4 separate regions of the Homo sapiens genome follow, and regions 1, 2 and 4 are each linked to region 3. Evidence: promoter capture Hi-C in 16 types of primary human blood cells and fetal thymus (Javierre and others, 2016). All regions are on one chromosome and are shown on one strand. The core of a region is centred on a gene start or on the middle of the fragment in contact, and the rest is flanking DNA. Distances in the headings are between cores, read along the strand shown. Region 1 overlaps SUCLG2-DT (SUCLG2 divergent transcript). Region 2 overlaps SUCLG2-DT (SUCLG2 divergent transcript). Region 3 holds the start of TMF1 (TATA element modulatory factor 1). Region 4 holds the start of LOC124909391 (a long non-coding RNA gene).

What was found. Contacts are between HindIII fragments. The CHiCAGO score rates a contact against its expected background, and 5 or more counts as called.
Region 1: a contact is called between a fragment that was not itself captured here and the fragment with the promoter of TMF1 in region 3, in 5 of 17 cell types (total CD8 T cells, naive CD8 T cells, non-activated CD4 T cells and 2 more). The highest score is 10.7, in total CD8 T cells.
Region 2: a contact is called between a fragment that was not itself captured here and the fragment with the promoter of TMF1 in region 3, in 1 of 17 cell types (naive CD8 T cells). The highest score is 5.9, in naive CD8 T cells.
Region 4: a fragment that was not itself captured here is called in contact with the fragment with the promoter of TMF1 in region 3 in 1 of 17 cell types (total B cells); the score reaches 5.4 in total B cells.

What each region holds. Positions count from the first base shown.
Region 1 is chr3:67,659,732-67,664,630 of GRCh38, forward strand. All of the region lies in intron 1 of SUCLG2-DT (SUCLG2 divergent transcript), which reads left to right. Among named protein-coding and RNA genes, the nearest start is that of SUCLG2-DT, 7.5 kb to the left of the region's middle. The HindIII fragment of the contact is 2,558 bases long and covers 333-2,890 here.
Region 2 is chr3:67,674,850-67,680,232 of GRCh38, forward strand. All of the region lies in intron 3 of SUCLG2-DT (SUCLG2 divergent transcript), which reads left to right. Among named protein-coding and RNA genes, the nearest start is that of SUCLG2-DT, 23 kb to the left of the region's middle. RefSeq lists a silencer at 3,906-4,065. The HindIII fragment of the contact is 1,906 bases long and covers 1,863-3,768 here.
Region 3 is chr3:69,050,745-69,056,358 of GRCh38, forward strand. TMF1 (TATA element modulatory factor 1) reads right to left here and starts at 1,589. Exons shown (of 17, transcript NM_007114.3): 1 at 1,201-1,589. The coding sequence starts at 1,342. It overlaps UBA3 (ubiquitin like modifier activating enzyme 3), which reads right to left. Exons shown (of 18, transcript NM_003968.4): 15 at 5,439-5,539; 16 at 5,256-5,319; 17 at 5,107-5,161; 18 at 3,986-4,781. The coding sequence ends at 4,693. RefSeq lists an enhancer at 1,181-1,650. The HindIII fragment of the contact is 2,649 bases long and covers 1-1,827 here.
Region 4 is chr3:67,074,225-67,079,264 of GRCh38, forward strand. It overlaps LOC124909391 (a long non-coding RNA gene), which reads left to right and starts at 1,810. Exons shown (of 2, transcript XR_007095954.1): 1 at 1,810-1,880; 2 at 3,844-4,005. The HindIII fragment of the contact is 188 bases long and covers 1,825-2,012 here.

The DNA.
Region 1 (4,899 bases), core at 362-2,861, 1.4 Mb before region 3:
ATTTAAAAGCTCCATGACCCTGGACCAGTTACTTAACAATCTCAATTCCTTGATCTGTGGAAAGGGGATTATGATAGTACCTATTTTGCCAATGAGATGCATCCTCAAACACTTGAGATCCCAGTGGCTGTTACCTACCATACCTTCATTATTTGACTAAGAACTCTTTTTCGTGTGTTTATTTCTTTAGTATTTACATCTGTGAACCTCAGTTTTCCTATTAGTAAAATGAAGGTCAAGTATGACATCTTATTTGAGCTGTGAGTTGACAGTGTAACACTTCTCATAAACTGCATGCATTTGAAATATGAAGTTGTAAAACTCTACGATTAAGCTTTGTATTTCTAGCACCTTGGCTATACTGTTTCTTATTCAGTTAATTGTTGCAAAAAGAAAAATAAAAACATCAGCAGGCCTATATGCCTTCGCTTTCATCTTAGCAGTGCCTGTTAACAGTGAAATAATGTGCTCATTTTCATATTCGCACTGATTACTCTAGGGGCGCAGATTTACCAGAGAGACATATCATGAAACCCAGCAAAGGGATACTGCATCTAGCAGTTCTGGTGGTGTTTTATCATTACCTTTTCACTTGAGCATAAAAACTGTTTGACAAATACTAATTGTAACCAGCAGAGCTGAATAGAATATTTTAAGAAACAACCCTAATTTTCATGAATTACATATTTGAGTTCATACTGCTGCATGTCAAGAATGAAAATCACTATTACAATGATGAAATAAAGGGCATCTGTGGATTTCATCTGGTTAATTTTTTAATGGATAACAGATTTCTGGAATTTACAGGAGACTAAACTTTTTGGTCTTTCATTGTATGCATAGGTAATATCACTGTTGCTATTTGTGATAGCCATTTTAACCAGTGATTCAGTTGTATTGTTTGCCAGTGGCACAGAAAGAATGGTCATTGTGCTCAAGTTATTTTTCCCTCTTCAATAATGCGTTAAAATGATTAATTTTGATGGTATTTCTCAGCAGCTTTATTTAAATGACGGTCCTCTGTATCTGTGGGTTCCACATCTATGATTCAACCAACTGCAGATTGAAAATATTCTGGGGAAAAAATAAAAAATAACAATAATAAAAAATGATACAAGTAAAAAATACAGTGTAGCAACTATTTTCATAGCATTTACATTGTATTTGGTATTACAAGTAATCTAAAAATGACTTAAAGTATACAGGAAGATGTGCATAGGTTATATGGAAATATTATGTCATTTTATATCAGAGATTTGAGCATCCATGAATTTTATTATCCATGGGAATTCCTGGAATCAGTCCTCCATGGACAGTGAGGGACGACTATGTAAGGTGCCTAGAAGAAAAGGGATTTATGACAAAAACTGTCTCCTTTGCCAACACTGAAGTGTGCTCAAGAGAAATTCTCACTGCATCCTGGAGAGAATTCACAGGAAGCAAGTTTAGAGCAGTGGTGACAGCTCAAAGTTAAGATAAGAAAGGAGGAAGAGTAAGGAACATCATTAACTTAGGGAAGGCCCAGCTGGAGACAAGGTCAGTGGAAGAGACTAAAAACAGAGAACAAGATGAAATGGTGGAAACAAGGGTGATGACATTCTTTTGGCAGGAAGTTTGGAGCTGGATGAAGAAGATGGTAAAAGCTGAGGAAAGAACATTTACACAAAGGACTGTGGAGGTTCTTGAACCGAAAGAGAAAAGTAGCATTAGATTGACTGTGGAAAAGAAGTTAGAAACAAAACCTAAATTCTTATTGCAATTGGAACCTGCGGAGTTCAGCACCTTCAATATTATTAAGATAGCTTCTTTTAAACAGTAAAGTAAAAATTAAAGGAACATTCTTTTACAAATGTCCTGCCTCATTATAAAGTGAGCAGCCACAGCAGTGGTTCTTTTTCTTCTTCTCTTTTTTATTTTTTGAGATTGAGTCTTGCTCTGTCACCCAGGCTGGAGTGCAGTGGCATGATCATAGCTCACTGCAGCTTTGAATTCTTGGGCTCATGCAATCCTCCCACCTCAGCTTCCAGAGTAGCTGGGACTATATATATGTGCCACCACACCCGGCTAATTAAAAAATATATATTTTTATACAGATGGGCTCACTATGTTGCCCAGGCTGGTCTTAAACTCCTGGACTCAAGCTATTCTCCCTCCTCAGCCTCCCAAAGCTATGGGATTACAGGCAAGAGCCACTGTGCCCAGCCACAGGCCATGGTTCTTAGCTTAGGTGTGTAACAGAATTCCTTTGGGCCATCCTCTCCAGAAGTTCTGATTCAGTAGGTCTGTCTTGGGGCTTGAGGATCTGCATTCTTATAAATAATGCCCCTACTCCACTGTCTTTGTTGTAGGTGGTTCATGCTTCATGGTTGGAGAAACACCAACATCAGCCGGGCGCGGTGGCTCAAGCCTGTAATCCCAGCACTTTGGGAGGCCGTCACTGGCAGATCACTTGAGGTCAGGAGTTCAAGACCTGCCTGGCCAACATGGTGAAATCCCGTCTCTACTGAAAATACAAAAATTAGCCAGGCATGGTGGCAGGCACCTGTAATCCCAGCTACTTGGGAGGCAGGGGCAGGAGAATCACTTGAATCCAGGAGGCAGAGGTTGCAGTGCATCAAAGGTAGCACTTTGGCATAGCTAGAGGGAATATCAGCAGCTATCCCATTCCCACCTTTCACATTTTCTCTTCCCTTTCTTCCCCTACTTCTACCATCCTCTTCAAACTTTCCCCAGCCCCTCTAAAACCTAATTTACTACATGCCAGCAAGAAGTATGGACTGAGGCTCCAAAAGATGCCTCTATGCTCTTCCCTCTATCTGAAACACCCTTCCCTGTTGTTCACCAGCATGAGTTTCTCTCATCCTTTGAGTTTCAGTCACCCCCTTCAGGAAGCTTCCCTGAAGCGGGAGCTAGGGGTATCTCAGTGGTTATTAGAGGTTTGTTACTGCATTTGCTACTTGTCTGCTTCATCCTTCAGGATTTTAAAATCTGCAATGACAGGGACCGTGTTCTTGCAGTGTTATTATTCTGCCCACAGTACAGTGCCTGGAAGACAGGAGGTGCCCAACTGCTATTGACTGGATGGGTAAATAAATAAAGATGAAGCTGGTGCAAAAATCTCCCTAATAAGAAGATGCAAAGATTCATGAGTGTCTGGAAATCTGCCAGTAGTCCCCAGTGAGAAAGGAAGTGGAGGCCCATGAAGGGAAATAACCTGCCCTGTGTGATGCACTACACTAGTGGTTTTTATGTACAGTTCCTCAGAGTCCTTGGACACCATAGAACTCCATCTCACTCTCTCCTTCTCCCTGCTTTTATTGAACACTTAGGTGCTTTCTAAATGCTTTACAGAAATTATCTTAATCCTCACTACCGACTTATTTTGCAGACGTACAAACTGAGTCTTAAAGCAGAGAGTAAGTGGCCTGATGTAAAGAATAGGAGAAGGCCAATTCCAACCAATCTGGAATTGATTCTAGGCCAGAATTGTCCAATAGAACTTCCTGCAATGAGGAAAATGTTCTATATCTGTGCTGTACATTATCATGCTATGTGGCTATTGAACATTTGAAGTATGGCTGGTGCAACTGAAGAAATCAATTTTTAATTTCATTTGATTTTATTTAATTTATACTTAAGTTTGAATAGCCACACATGGCTAGTGGCTATCATACTGGTCAACATGGGCTATCTAATTCTGATGTACAGTCTCTGCATCATCATTCCATTTTCTAAAGTGGGTTTCTCCCACAGCAGTTGTTAAAACAAGGATTTGGATACAAAGAGATTATTTAAGAGGTGATCCTAGACAGCAGGAGAGGGATTGAGGAGGTGAGATGGAGAAGGTGAATACTAGTAAAAGACTACATTGATATGCTGTAGGCACTTGAGGTTTCTGTTTGTTTGTTTGTTTGTTTTTTTGGAAACCTTCGAGAGACTTATGGAAAACACTGTATAATTGTTTCATTGAGGAGCACGGAACTGATCATGTTTATTCACCAACTCTCATGCCTTTTTGGTTGAAGGATGCTCCTAGGGGCATTCACACCTGCTCTGAACTCCTTCTTCATCTCCAGCCTGCCTCCCTTATGGGCCATTTCATGCCACTGTACCTAGATAAAGCCTTAGGGCCAAGAGATTCAGGTGCTTGAGGCTGGGTCTATCCTTCTGAGCTGCAAATAACTTCCAGGGTGGATCAAGGGAATGTGGGGTCAGGATAGATTATATTGCCTCTCATTTACAACCAACCATATTAGCTCATATTAGTGTTTTATCTGGAATAGGAGGAGAAGCATTTGAGACTGTTAGAAAAAAGGTTCTGCTATTTAAAAAAAAAGTTTTGAAACTGTAGCTCTAAACTACATTCCTACCTGTTTTCCTGACCACCTCAATTACTAACTTGTATCGTGTTCCATATTATTTCTAGCACAGCATGGATTCTCTAACATTCTTGCAGTCTGGGCCCTGCAAGGTAGCTGTAAAAATGCTGCCCTGGGACTTTCTCAGTGGAGACATAAGAAGACTCAAGCATTCCAGAAAGTGTTTGTTTGGTTGGCTTTTATTGATGTATATAAAAAGATTAGAGACAGCAAGAGAAGAAAATCAGAGAGAACCTATACTTGGTTAAAAAAAAAAAAAAGATTTTACAGCAGAAGTAGATAGAAGTGGTGCAAATGATGATTTCTCCTCTTCTGATATCAAGCTTTGTTAAGTTCCTGGAAAAGCAAACGTGATTATGGCAGGAGTAAATTGACTGAAAGCCAAGTCAAAGAGGCAGATCAGCTTCTGAAGGAGGTCTGCTCACTTCAGCAAAGAAAGCAGGGCAAAGAATCCTAGGCTTTTGAGCTAGTTAGGCCCCCAGTTCCTACAACCATGGGCTGAAATAATGTGGAGAACTCT
Region 2 (5,383 bases), core at 1,566-4,065, 1.4 Mb before region 3:
CTGTAATAGTTGGTACTTGTTCTGAAGGCATTAAATAGCTTGTGATTTACATTATGTTGCTGAAGGTTTTACATAATACTTTGCTTGAATTATTATAAAAGGAACGGCAGTTAACATTGTTGTTACATCTCAATCAATGTTAACCAATTCAACTTAGACAATAACATCAAATTCTTCATGTTTTTGTTGCTTTGGTGGTTTAGAAGGGTTCTGAAACTCTTTACATACATATGCCAATGATTCATTTCTGGATTCATTGTGCTGGTAGTATGGATGAAACATGCTGTTTTAAACATAAATTAATTACAATGGGCAGAATAAATAAAGATTCTACCTCTTAAATTTATTTATTTATTTTATTATGATGATAATTTTTTTGAGACTGAGTCTTGCTCTGTTGCCCAGGCTGGAGTGCAATGGCATGATCTCGGCTTACTGCAACTTCCACCTCCCAGATTCAAGTGATTTTCTGCCTTAGCCTTCTGAGTAGCTGGGACTACAGGTGTGCATCACTACACCCAGCTAATTTTTTTTTGTATTTTTAGTAGAGACAGGGTTTTGCCATGTTGGCCAGGCTGGTCTCGAACTCCTGATCTCAGGTAATCCACCTGTCGCGGCCTCCCAAAGTGATGGGATTATAGGTATGAGCCAACATGCCCAACCTACCTCTTAAATTTAAGTAATTTTTTTAGCTTAAGGATGTTATGAAGCTTCAAGTCTGTTATCTAGGAAGCTTATAACACTCTAACATTAATAGAGTATCATTTTTGTAATTGTTTATAAAATTTCATGTGAAAAATGGGAAAGAAGGGAGCCAAAATGTTTTAAAAAATCTTTTTGGACCTCTAACCTGTGCCAAGCATATTCCAAGGTGTTAATTACTTCCATTGCATTGTGGTAACAGCTTGAGAAGTGGAGTGCTGATAGTCCACATCCATTTTATCAAGGTTATGCGAGGTCAAGAAATTTGCCCAAGTTGAAGTCACTTGGAAGTGTCACAGTGGGGATTTTTTTTCCTTTAAAAAATTAAAAAAATTTTTTTCTTTATGATTTTTTTATGCATGTGTATTTTTAGTAGAGACAGGGTTTTGCCATGTTGCCCAGGCTGGTCTTGAACTTCTGAGCTCAAACAATCTGCCTCAGCCTCCCAAAGTGCTGGGATTACAGTTATGAGCTACCGCACCTGGTCCGGTGTGGGAATTTTAATCATGGACAGTCTAACTTCACAGTGCAGGCCTTTTCTGTTTCAGCATATCCCAAAACATGGATGACACAAACCAGTAACTACAAAGATGATAATTGGTGCTATGTGAAAATTACGTTTTTATATGGGCCAAATGAATTTGGTTAACAATAGGTGGAACAAAGTTAACCGTATTTCTTTACTATAGGATTTCTCAGAGCCCATAATATGCTAATTCACAAACTAAATCTGAGTTATGGCAGGCTCCTAGGATTCTAACCCCCTAGCCTACCTGTCCTATCTGATCTTCCACTGAGTGAGGGTGGGATTTGTGAAACTGATGGGATAGCACTCCTGTGAGTAGGCGATATGATGTAGCAAAAGTGAAGGATCACAAATCAGTTGACTTTACATTAGTCAAAAAGGAGAATCTCCTGTGTGGGCCTGACTAAATAAGAGGGACTGGGCTCTTCGCACTGACCTTGAAGAACAGACAGCTAAGTGCGACTGCCTGTGGAGAGAGTACATCTCTCTCTGCTGGGGGCCTCAGTTCAGCCTCTACCAGGAGCTGAATTCTACCATATGAGCTTGAAGGAGGACCCTGAATTCCAGGAAAGAACATAGCTAACACCATGATTTCACCCCTGTTAGACTCTGAGCAGAGGACCCAGCCAAGCCAAGCTTGGACTCCTGACCTAGATAAAAAATGGTTGCTTTAAGCTGCTAAGTTTGTGGTGATATGTTATGCAGCATAGAAAACTCATATGGGGATATAACATTTTGTTTTCAAGAAATCTTTCTTTTTTTCCCCAGAGTATCTTATGGGACTGGTGTTCCATAGAATCAACTTTGGGAAATGCTGTGTTTTTATGGCATTCTTTTCTCCTTCAGAGAAAGACTGATGGTTAGACACAGCCTCTGCTACCAGGAATGGTTGGAGCTCGTGATTCAGAGAAGGGATGCATGTCCCTTTGGTGAACCTGGTTTCCATGTGGGATGAAGGTTGAAGTTGATGAGTTAGTGAGGTGAGGTTGACTTGATGGTTGGTAGTGAGGTGAGGTGAGGTTGAGTGGGATGGTAGTGAAGGTTTAGTTGATGAGTTAGCAATGTTTAGTGAGAGTGATGGTTAATTTTATGTGTCCACTTGACTGGGCTACGAGGTGCCCAGATATTTGGTGAAATATTATTTCTTGGTGTATCTGTGAGGGTATTTCTAGATGATACTGACATTTGAATTGGTGGACTGAGTAAAGCAGATTGCCCTCATTAGTGTGGGCAGGCTTCATCAAATCTGTTGAGAAGGCCTAATAAAATAAAAGGCTGCAGCAGAAAAAATTCTCCTTCTCTGTCTGTTTTCAAACTGGAACATCAGTCTCCTGTTGCTTTTGGTCTTGGGTCTCCAACTTGCCTATTGCAGATCTTTGAATTTTCAGTCTCCGTAATCATGCAAGCCAATTCCTTATAGTAAATCTATATCTATAGTTGTATCTCTTATTGGTTCTATTTCTCTGGAGAACCTAGACTAATACAGCTGGGTTCACAGTGACAGAGAGTGGTAGGCACCTGGAGTCATGAGTGGGCTACTCAGATAGGTCCTCACATTGTGATATTTATCCTGGGGAATTATCACAGCCAAGGCACTTCCCTTCTCATCCTTACCGATTATGAAATTCACGCTATCAATGTCCCAGAATTGATGAACGATTCCTTCCAAAAACACTAAAAGAAGGAAATCAAAGTGCCCACAATTTACAATGATAAACACAAGAGTTGGATACACCATCTTTGAGTGGGTCTTATTGGGCCATCTTCCCCTTACAAAACATCACATTTGTGATGTTTTAGATATGGGTGGTAAGAAAGAAGGGCACATCCTAAACAACATCTAGGTTTCTGACATGTTAATAGAATGGTTGATTCACAGTGGCCATTCCTGAGAAAGGATCTCAGTTAAGTGGAGAAAGATCATTAGTTAAGTCATGCTGAACTTGAGATGCTTTTGAAACATCCAAAAAAAAAAGGAGCTGTTGAGATCTGCCTGGGCAACAAAGTGAGACCCTGTGTCTACAAAAAATAAAAAAGTTAGCTGAGCATGCATACCTGTCATCCTAGCTACACTGGAGGCTGAGGCAGAAGGGTTGATTGAGCCTAGCAGTTTGAGGATGCAGTAAGCTGTGTTCACACCACTTCACTTCAGCCTGTGTGACAGAACAAGACCCTGTCTCAGAACAACAACAACAACCAAAAAAAAAAAACTGTTAAAATTAAATATGTATTAAATATGTGGTCTCTCCCAGGCTGAGCATATATATATATATACATACATACATACATACATATATATGTGTGTGTGTGTGTGTGTGTGTGTGTGTGTGTGCACGCTCCATCTGCATAAAGATAATAATTGAACCTATGATCATGAATGAGATTATCCAAGGAGGGGGATCAAAAGAGAGGCCCTAAGATTCCTGAGGAATTGCTATGGCTAATGGGCTGGTAAAGGAGGATAAGCCTGAAAAGAAGACAAGAACCTTTTGTAAAAGCATAAGAAGATAGAGTTTGAGTTCCTACTTGAAGGATAATTAAGCTTCTGACTATAGATATCAGTAGGAAGGACATTCAGGGATAGAGGGAAGATAATGAACTAAATCATTCAGGGCAAAGTGAGCAGGGCAGATGAAGGCAAGGGCAAGTTACATAGTTTGATTGTTGAGGCTGAGAAAGAGAGAACTAAAAAAGGAGATAATTGCCTTATGACAAGCAGTCTGAAATGCTATTGTACAGATTTGTATTCATCCAGCAGACTTGTGGTTTTGAAACTCAGGAGGCCAGGTGTTAGTGCTCTGCACCTCCTGCCCACACATCACTGTGGCACCTTTGCTGCTATCTTTTCATGTGTGGCTAACATAGTATTTTGAGACATGAAGTTGTTATCTATAGAGTCACAGATATGAATCTATATTATGTTTCCTCTGTGTATTTCCTTCAGCTCAAATAAGAATATGCTGTATACAGTCATGGCCTGTTTTGTTTTTCCATAGTGAAGGCCACAGGTTGGAAACTCAAATTACCTAGAAGGATGAGACAGGGAACGTAAACAGGTGAAGTGGACTGGGTGCAAGAGAACCAGGAGATGATGAGGTCTGTAGTAAACTGAAGAGCCACTTTTCTTCTTTAAAGGATTCAAATCTAACTTAAACAACAAAACCAAACACTGTGCAAGCCACACAATGCCTGTCTGTGCGCTGTAGTCAGCCCCAGGGCCACCTATTTATGACCCCTTGATGAAATTTTGGAGGAATTGGGTGAAGAAGATAATAGAAAAGTAAGAAGACTAAAACTTACAGGTATACATACCAAAATGTGCTAAAGAAGTAAAGGGGAGCATATGATTTCCTCTCCCCGTCCCCCAAGATTAGAGGTATCCCTCCACATTGTGGAGGGGTTGGAGAGACCAAAGGGAAGTTTAGAAGTGCCTGAATCCTGGGGCTGCCTGGGAGGTAGTAAAGCCTTAGGACAATGGCTGTCCATGAACAGACACAGCATGGAAGCAGCAGAGACCCTGTGCACTGGAAGGGCCAGGTGGGCAGGAAGAGTGTGGGGGTAATCGATGCTAATTCCTTGGTCCCACACATCACTGAGAAACCAGGAAAGCCTGTCTATTGTTGAGACTTTCGGCTCAGCTGAGGATCCCAGCACCATGGTTCAACCCTGGGAATGTGGGAGAGGTCACGAATTAGACTGAGATTTTCTTCCCTCCTAAAAAAAAAAAAAAAAAAAAAAAAGAGGAACAATCAGAAATTAAGCTGTTATTTTAAAAATACAAATACAGATATATGACAAATTTTACCAACCTGGGTCTAAGGCCCAAGATTCGTGTCTCTTATGTACATTCTGGAGTTCTACAGAAAAATTATCTGGAAATAAACTGAATTCACTGCTGTGAGTGACCAATTACCCCTATTTGCCACGGCTCTCTCAGTCTTTCAAACCTAAAATGCTAAAGCTGGGGAAGTTCCAAGCAAAGCAAGACAAACTGATTTCTCTATCACTGCCAATGAAGCACTAGCAAATTCCTTCCCTGAACAAGGGTAGGTTTTTGAAGAGGAGAGTGTTATGATCAGAGCTGTGTTTTGAGATCAATCTACTTGCCATGTGTATAATGAGTGGGAAGAGAAAAGAGGCCCTGAGACCAGTTCA
Region 3 (5,614 bases), core at 339-2,838:
AACTGAGGTACCTCAAATTTAGGTCCTGACTTTTCAATGATGTAAAATTAAGAACAGAAACCAGAAAGGAGTAGTCAAGTACATCTCTTATCCTTTTTCACACAAAGGTTCACATCCCCCAACACCAGCAAATCTTTACCCCACACATCAAATGCTGAACTGTTCCTTAGACTTAAGAGTCAAAAGCAACTGAATGAAGATCCCTGAAAGATTAAGCTCAATGAAACTGCAAAGAGAGACTTGGCTATTCAGAAATAAAATGTGATACCATCCAGAAATCTTGGGTCACACATTTTCCGGCTAATACCTCCGGCACATTCTAATCCTCCTCCGCCGTGTGACCTAGAGCAAGTTACTTGGCCATTCTGGGCCTCATTTTCCTCTTATGTAAAACACGGATATAAACCAAGCTCTCTCTGGGAGTTGTTCTGAAGATGAGAAGGCCATAAAAAAGCACATTACAGGCTCGTGCCTGTAATCCCAGCACTTTAGGAGGCCGAGGTGGGTGGATCGCCTTAAGTCAGGAGTTCCACCAGCCTGGCCAACATAGTGAAACCCCGTCCCTACTAAAAATACAAAAAGTTGCCGGGCGTGGTGGTGGGCGCCTGTAATCCCAGCTACTAGGGAGGCTGGGGAAGGAGAATCGCTAGAACCTGGGAGGCGGAGGTTGCAGTGAGCCGAGATCGCGCCACTGCACTCCAGCCTGGGCGACGGAGTGAGACTCCGTCTCAACAACAACATAAAACCACATTACGCGCTACCAAGCGCGAAATGTTCACTGACTGTTAGCGATTGTTCTTCCCTTCCCTGATGATTTACGTACTTCAGACCTTGGATCCCAACAGTGCCCGAGACGCGAAGCAATTCGAGGTTCAGGTTCGGGAAGGTTGTGCTTGGAAGCTGCGTCGAGGGAGAGCTTGAGGGCAAGACCAACCAACCAAGTCCCCTGTCATCCAAGTCCACAAGCCTCGCACCCAGGACCAAAGAAAGACAAGGGGGAACCTGGATCTGGGTTTTCCCTCAGGAAAACAGCAAAGACCGACTTGGAGGCTGAAGCAGCATTAGGGAACGGGCCGGGGAGAAATTACTTCCTGAAAACTCTCTCAGCAAGGAAGGACCCCTCTCTACACCACTTAACCTGCCTGCATCAAGAGAACAGCAGCCTCCGGGAGCCAGGAACCCCGCTCCTCTCTCTCTTACCCGGCTCTCCATACGGAATGGTCTCGGCCCAGATGCTCGGCTCCTCTTCCTGGATGTCCAGAACCCTGTCAATAGACTTCTGGGCCTGGGACAGGGCCTGCTTAGCGAAGCTGGAGAGCTGGGAGGCGTTGAACCAACTCATCGCCCCTCCTCAGCCGGCAGTGGCGGCGGCAGCACCAAGCGGGAAGGCCTCAGGCCTGGGGAAGGGTGCAGAGGAACGGCTTCGCTCCCCTTTTCCACTCGGCTGGTTCTGTCAGCGTGTGGCCATTACCCCGACAGCCTCCCGCGAGCCCGGGATGTTACCCTCGGCCGTTCCCGCACAGCTGAGACGAAGGGGGCCCATGTGCGCATGCGCTTGCTTCTTCCACGTACACAGCAACCAAATCTACGAGCCCAGAGTTCGGTCGACAGACGGAAGAACAGAAGAACGTTGACGTCACATCCGGGAGCGCAGGGTTGCCGTTAGTTACCGAGGAACGCGGAAGGGTTTCTATTGATGTCGATTTCGTGCTTACAGCAGTTCTTAGCGAAGGGGAAGCTATGGCTACCGATAGAGGTCGATTTCCCCGGAAGGAATATTCAAGTTTTCGTGTGTGTGCTTTCCAGGAAAATAGTTCACGTGCTAAAAGCTTGCACCTTGCCAGCAATAATTGCAAAGGGAAATTGGGCCTCACACTTCTCTTAGCCCTTTGTCTCAAATATTTAATAAGCTCTGTATTAACTTGGTATTGTAAGGAGAAACACTTGTTTGGGCTTGCCTAAAAGACAGGATCACGTATGAACACTGTGTCCAACTCGTGGAACACATGGTGCATAAAGCACAACCTCTCTCTCAAAATAGTAGTAAACTCATTGCTGCAGTCAAAATACCCCTAATACTGTGGTCTGTCGGTGTCCCCTGCACAAATTCCTATGTTGAAACCTAATCTCCAATGGGACAGTATTAAGGGGAGCCTTTAGGAGATGATTAGATGATGATGGAGCCCTCATAAATGGGGTTAGTGCCCTTATAAGAGAGGCCCAAGGGAGCTCACGGCAAGAAGGCACCAACTCTAAGCCAGAATAGCAGCCCTCACCAGACACCAAATCTGCCGGCTCCTTATCTTGGACTTCTCAGCCTCTAGAACTGTTAAGAAACAAATTGCTACTGCTTATAAGCCACCCAGTTTATGGCAATTTGTTACAGCAGTCCAAATGGACTAAGACACCTAGGAAGCACTAAAGCTGTTATCCTAACAATGTGCACTGTGCATATTACTTAAAACATAACCTTTTCTGTGTGCATTCTCTTCGAACATTTGGACATGGGAAAATACCTTAAATTGGTGGCCTTCCTAATCCAGTCTGCAGCTATATTTGGTTTGGGCCCAAGTTAAAGACAAAATCCTAACTAAAAGCCAGATTTCATTCAAAAATCTAGATTTCCAGCTGCTTTTGAAAAATATGAATACCAAGCATGGGAATAGTCAGCCAGAGTGGTCACCAAATAATTTTCACTCACTCCAGTTTGCCACAGACCCCTATCACTCATCCTATTACACCCTCCCTGCTGTGATTATTTACCTTATATGCCTGCCTCCCATATTTGAATATTTTACCCCACTGCAAGGAACTCTGCAAAAAAGAATTATTTTTCTTTTAAAAAATCAGATTGAACCCCTTAAGAAGTTATAATCATCTTCCAATAATTTTATCTAACTACAGTAAAAACTTGCATGTTAAAACTAACAATTTAGTCATGTACACAAGTAGTACCAAGTAACTCAAGTACTTTCAAACAGCTAAGTAGTCTGCAGAGGAGATTTGGGGCAGATTCGGGTTGAAATTAGCTGTACAGTTACAGTTCCAAGACTTCTAATTGTACAGCTTTGGTGAAATGACCTACCTAAACCATCTAAAACTATTTATTCAGCTCTCAGATAGAGTCACCTTCTTACAATGCTACTTTGAGAATTATTATAGCACCTATATGGTGCTAAATTTTAGTTCCTTCACTTTCAAAATTGTAAGCTACACCTGTAACTTTTCAGGTAGAGCTTATAAATTTATTCCGTATGGTTTTATAATAAAACTTATTTGTCAATATGTAGCTAGAAAGATTACTGAAAACTTAACTCAGTGACACATAAGTAACCAAAAAACATTTGAACAGAAAACTGCCATATCTAAGTCAAAAACAAAGAATGAGAACACATACATGTTCTCATATTAAAATACTAGCACCTACTTTTTTAGTATTTGTACTTAATTTTGTTTGAAGTTTTATTCACTTAAAAGAAACAAAAACATGGTCAGGCATGGTGGCTCATGCCTGTAATCCCAGCACTTTGGGAAGCCGAGGGGGGCGGGGGGGGGTGGATCACCTGAGGTCAGGAGTTTGAGACCAGCCTGGCCAACGTGGTGAAACCCCGTCCCTACTAAAAATACAAAAAATTAGCCGTGCATGGTGGCAGGCGCCTGTAATCCCAGTTACTCCGGAGGCTGAGGCAGGAGAATTGCCTGAACCGGGGAGGCAGAGGTTGCAGTGAGCTGAGGTTGCATCATCGCACTCCAGCCTGGGCAACAAGAGCGAAACTCTGTCGCAAAAAAAAAAAAAAAAAAAATTATATTGATACAGAAAGTTAAATTAAACCAGTAAATTTTTACTATAGAAATTGCTGTAGCAAAAGTATTAAGTGCAATAAAAATTTGATATAACTCTGCTACACATTTAAAAATTATTCCTATATTACCATGGAACTACTGATTACCCTTAATGTACTTTTAAAAACTTCAGTGAAAGAAGTACACAATATATGATTTTATTAATAAATAGTGCAAAAGCATCAGTGATAACTGTTTGAACATTAAATTTTTTAAACAGCCATGTCTTGGCATTAGTTAATATTGTGCATATTGGCCTCTATGGCACTACAAGTAAACAGATGAAAATATTGCCCATTTTCATGCACAGGTATTCAGCTATAACACCATTTACAAATCATTATGAACAAGATAAATTCTGCAATAATATTCATTTGGATGGCCACAATTAAATGAGTGTTATATCAAGAAATAGCCTATGTTCAATATACTCCAGATGTCAGATTGTAAAATGTAATGTTATTTAAAACTTAATTCTTTATTTTCCTTAAAGGGACACCTTTTGTGTATTTGGGTACTCAAATGAAAACTTAGGAATGCATTCTTTGACCATAATAACAAAATTCACACAAAAGAGGTTGTATGCTTCCTCCTCTAAAAGAAGCAATACATTTGCTCATAATCTCTCTCTCCAGGTATCATTTCTCATATTATTAATGAAAATGCTTACAAGCACCAACACCAAAATTCTGTCTTCAAGGGAAGGTTACAAAGTTAAAAAAGAGTGGTTCATTATATAAAAAAAGACAAATCGTGGCAACACTATTGCTAAAAATGACATCGATTCAACTTCTTAGCATCCACAAAGTATATTATTTCCATGAGTTTTCTATTATGTGGAGATTTTCCTTAAGAAGTAAAATGAAGTTTGAATAGTACAGTCTGTGGGGTGGTGACATCAGCAACCGCCAGTTCTTGTCCATCAACAAGCCCCAATTCTAAAACAGAAAAAATATTATTAATACAAGCAAAAAAAACTCAACAGAAAGGATAATACACATGTAAACAAACTACAGAGTATTACGGTCTAGAAAAACATCAAAATCCAATCCTCTTTAATCAAAGTAATATTTGATTTCTTAGAGATTTTAAAATATTCTACTAAAAGAGCAATTAATTCTATTAATATGTCTAAAGTTGTAAGTAATTATTACCTGACCATATACAAGGCATTAAGAGGAAATCTAGAACAAGCACTGATTACTTTCACCAAAAAGAGAGAAAAGAAAGAAAATGATTAGTAAATACCCTTATGTAAAATACCTTTCAATGTTTTGGAGAGATTTGGCCTTGTTCGTTCTTCAATAGAGGTTACCGACTAGAAAACAAAATTACTTTAATGTAAGACACATTAAAGTAAAATAAAACTTGATATAATTTTCTGAAAAAAATTTAAAATACACATTGATAACCTGTAAGTAAAGTGTTCTATTTTTTCCCTCTAGGGTGGCTGTGATGGCTGGAGATTTCATTTGCCTAAAGATTATGATGAGAGAGAAGTATCAAACATAATTTTTATCAAAAGATAATTTTTTTAAGGTTTCAAAAATCACAAAAATGATTTTTACAACATAACAAAAATCTACAATACTTACAGAGAAGCACTATTGGTTAGATAATCCAAAACCTCCTGTAGTTTAGCTGATGGAGAAAACTGAATATTTTGAGGAAGCTGGCTACAAGCTGGGCAGTTTTCCTACACACATAATACACAACAAATTACAGCAGCACATGCACCAATATTAGTCTCTTTTATGAACAATAAAATAAA
Region 4 (5,040 bases), core at 669-3,168, 2.0 Mb before region 3:
AAAAAGACAAATATCATATTCTATCCAGAAGCTTATTAATAAAACATTAATGACATATAACATCTCAGTAGAAATGAGATAAAAACTCTTGCTGGATTCCTTTGTGACAGCATTGGGTGATAGTATAATCCCAGTAATTTGTAACATGGAAGGGCACCTGCTCATATTCTCATGCATATGCTAAGATGGATGAATGCGGTAAGATGCAAGCCATGAATCTACTTTGTGCACACACACCTAGCACACAGATGATGGAATAATGCTCAATGGCTTTATTTTTATTTAAAATTTTATTTGTATACAGTTATGGGTTACAAGGATAATTTTGTTACATGGATATATTGCATAGTGGTGAAGTCAGGGCTTTTAGTGTATCCATCAACAGAATAACACACATCGTATCCATTAAGTAACTTCTCCTCTGTTTCTGCTTGGGCAGTAGAGTTTTATTTTTTTTTTATTTCATGTGATATCCCCAAGACCAGATTCTCCACAACACATTATTATCTCCAGTATCAAAATGTATCACTGCACAGCCAAATCACTAAGATTTTTCAAGATCAAACTGTGGAGTAGATGGCTTGATAGACAAGAGTCTGACTTGTTTCCCCAAATAAGTTGACTTTTTCACCTTTCTAAGAGAAAAATCAATAATCTCATTGGCCATTACACACACACACACACACACACACACACACACACACACATGTTGTAACCGAATAAGAAGAATGCTTTCCAGAGCCCAAAACAACCAGAGTGATTAAGAATCCATTAGCTGCCATCTTTCAAATTACTTATTCAATCTTACAGCTTTTGAATGGATATGATCATCTGATGGTGCACTGTAGTCTTCAGCGAAATCCTATACACAATTTCTTGGTCCATCCATGTTCAGTGAGACTATGTAAAACTGTTGGAGCCAAGAATCTCATGCCACCACTTTTACCTCTAGTTTCATGTTCATATTTTATCCACAGTTTACATAAGTCCTCTGTTTAGTTTTCCTGAATTTATATTCATGGAATCAATGTTTTGCAGCACACACATTTTTAAGGAATTAAGGCCTATGGAGTCTTTCAAGGAAACCAAGGATTGCTTTCCAGTTTGAAGCTGCTTTCCTCTTTTTGTGTTTTCTATGGACCTAAAGAAATGAAAACTCTCAGTTGAGATTTTCAGGAAAGTACCTGACTACTGGCTGACTCAATAAGTTGCTATGAGAAATTAAATATGCAAATCATTTTTACATGCACATTTATATAGGGAAAACACCTGCACACCTGGATCCCCAGCAGTCTCTGCTGATTAATATGCATGTAACCCCGAACTGCCCGTTGCTGGGTAATAAGAGTTTTAAATGTACTTGGCTTATTTTCAAGTAAATCTCTGGGTCTTCAGTACTGCAATTAAATGTGCCAGGTTAGATGCTCATTTCATGTCAAATCCACTTCCTACCCTATGAAAGAAGTTCTATTTTTGCATTTAATAGGTATTTTGTCTTTACTTTGGAAGAAAAAAAAAGACTCCTGTTAACAGCAAACAATGAGATTTACAATGTAAAGAAAACCACCCGGTAAACTAGAATGTTTTACAGAGTGATTTAAAAAAATAAAAAGGTTGGGGAAGATGGTTCTGCCATGAAACAGCTGAAAGATCAAATGTAACTGAAAAACACTGGGGCCAGGTTGCCTCTGATGAATGATATCTCCTTTTTGATAGTGTACTTGTAAAATTCAGGTTATACATGCACCATTTTATTTGGGAATCTACAAAGCTTTGGAGATAGGTAGCAACAAGTTGGTTATTTTTTTAAGGTGGAGAAATTGAAGCTTGGCATCCCAGTGTCCCATTCAAGACGTTCCAAGCAGTAGATGGAAATGCAGGTGAGCAGTAGAGTTCATTCGAATTCACTTCCCTTGTTCAGGCCCCTCCCGCCGTGCCATTGCTATTCTTTCTGCGTGGGTATTGCTCATTCTTCGCCTGAGAGTATTTATTCTATCTTCACTAGAAATGAAAGCTTTAACCTATGGGCTTTTCATTTAAATAACATCATTTACATTTTATTTTATTTTTCAAACAGGTCTCCAGGGACAGAATCTCTGGGAATTAATTATGTACCACACAAGACTCTAAAAAATATGAGGTTCAAACTGGCTGATGTTACTTATGGAAATGGGCTGCCAAATAAAACAATCTAAGAAATATTTAACAGTGACATCTGACACATCTTATTCCAAATTAGGTATCACATATCTTATGACAGTCCAACAGAAAGCAGAGTTTTATTGTGCATGTTTTGCTTTAAAAGATTATTCCTTTTGCACCTCAGTAATACAAATAACAGTTTATAAGCATTTATACTCTATCATTAAAAACTCACATTAATATAAGACTATACTAATAGAACCTAGTTTAAACACATGTGTATTTGTAGGTTTATATAAGTTCATATGTCAAGCATTAGATAATTTTAATTGCTCAACGTAATCTTTAAAACAACTTAATGAGATAAGTAGTAGTATTTTTATTTTATACATACAAGGAAAGTGAAACCTTTAAAAAGTGAGGCAAGGTGAGTGACTCATTCAACTTTACTGGGCTTTTGCCTGTCCCTTTTGACCCTGCCAACGGAAGTATTTCTTCCTCTGTCCTTTTTTCCACACATTTCACCTTCTATTTACTTAAATATACTTTTGTTCTTCTGAACTCAAGCTAGTATTTTTGATATGGGGAAGGCAAATTAGTAAAGAAAGGCAGTTGATATTTAGTCCAAAAATAAGCAACCTAGTTAAAGAACATAAAAGAGATAAAATATTCTAGAGTTGGCTCTAATTTTCTGTTTTTTGCTTTACAAACCAGTTTTATTTTACATTGCCAATGACTTTTGGAGTCACTCTCTTCACACCACTTTAGCCACCCATTGATAATCACATTTTTACATCTGTCAGTGAAATTTACTCAGTCCTGATATTGTCAATTTAGACACTGCGTTCCCAGATCACAACCTTCTTTTCTTTCAATTCTCTCTATTCTTTCCAAGAAATCAGCCTTTGCCTACACTCAGGACTACAGTCCTTTCTGGTTTCCCTCCCAGGCTCCTCTGTCTTAATTTATTTCACTTTTCACTGCTCAGCTTAGAATTTGCTTCTCTTCAATCACTGTCTTACAAATATTCTGAACTCCCTTGACCTCTTAACCTTTTCTTGCACTTGACTGACCAAATTCCATCTATATTTGGACAAATCCCAGAATCTACCTTTTTCATATGCAGACTTCTGGGAAGTGCTGAATACAACTGTGCAAACTAAGGCTAATATATGATTGTGGTCACTGACCTCAAATGGCTTGTTCTTTTTCTCTAATAATACTATTTTCAGTTTTATATAGTCTCTTTTGCTTATTTTTTACAGCACTTAAGTAAAATATTCTCCACTCTTGTCAAGGCTTCATTTCCTTATCTCATCATCATCTTCAGAGAAAAAAAACTAGAAGTAATCAGAGGAAAATTACCTCAACCTTCTTCCATCAAGTCCAAGTATTTTTCTTTCCTGCACTGTACTGTTTTAGTTGGGGTTTTGCTAAAACCAAAGGTGAGGTAACATAGAAATGCTAATGCTTTATAGGAAAGTGTAATCCCAAGATGGTGTGAGTCAGAGGATGGTGCAATGGTTTGAATGTTTGTGTCCCTTCCAAAATTCATATTGAAACTTAATCACCAATGCAATAGTTTTAAGAGATATGAACTTTGGAAGTCATGAGGACTCTGCCCTAGTGACTGGAATTAGCATCCTTATAAAAGGACTCAATGTTGAAGGGAGCTCTCTTTTGCCCTCCCATCCCTTCCAGCACGTGAGGACATAGTGTTCCTTTTCTCTGAAGGATGCAGCAAGAAAGCGCCATCTTGGAAAGGGAGACGAAGCTCTTACCAGACACCAAACCTGCTGGCACCGTGATCTTGGACCTCCCAGCCTCCAGAACCATGAGAAATAAATTTATGTTGTATGTAAATTATCCAGTCTGTGGTATTTTGTGACAGCAGCACAAATAAACTAAGACAGATGGAAAGCAGATATAGGTGATGCAGCATTCAGCCATCTGCTGCTTTGTGAGATGCAAAGTCACTCACCCAAGTGGCCTCTCCCTTGAAAACCTGTACAGAACACAGGTATTCCAGAGTAGAATGAGGAATAGATAAGGACATTTCCAATGGTTCCTGCTCATCTTTTGCCTTTTCATGGGCCAAAGTTTGCCTCAGAGGCAGCTATTTTGTCCACACCTCTCTATTGTGGCACTCGGTACCTTTTCAAATTTTATTTTCCGTTTCCTTTCTATCCTCTCCTTTTTAAGGCATAATTTACACATATATTTGACTGCTTGAAGTTCCCCATAGTTCACTGATATCCTTTTTAATCTTTAGAGCTGTTTATCTCTCTATGATTTATTTTGGACAATTTCTATTTGCTATGACTTCAAGTTAACTAACCTTTCGTTCTGCAATATCTAAGCTATAGTTGTTTTCCTATCCAGTGTATTTTGCATCTCAGACACTGTAGTTTTCATCCCTGGAAGTTTGATTTGTATCTTTTCATGTCTTTCATGTCCCCACTTAACATATTCAATCTTTCCTCTAGCTTCTGGAGTATATGGAGTAGTTAAATAACAGTTTTAAGGTCCTTGTCTAGTACTTTTATCACTTGTAGCATTTCTAGATGAGTTTCTATTGATTTTTCTCCTATGGGTTACATTTTTCTGCTTTTTTGCAAGCTTGGTAATTTTTTGTTGGATGCCAGATATTATGAATTTTAGCTTATTGGGTATTAGATTATTTCTTTTTTATTTTTTTGAGACAGGGTTTTGCTCTGTCACCCAGGCTAAAGTGCAGTGGTGTGATCACATTTCACTGCAGCCTTGACCTCTTGGGCACAAGTGATCCTCCTGCGTCAGTCTCTCAAGTAGCTGGGCCCACAGGTGTATGCCACCACGCCTGGCTAATTTTTGTATTTTTTCTAGAGACAGGGTTTCACCACGTTGCTCAGGCTGATC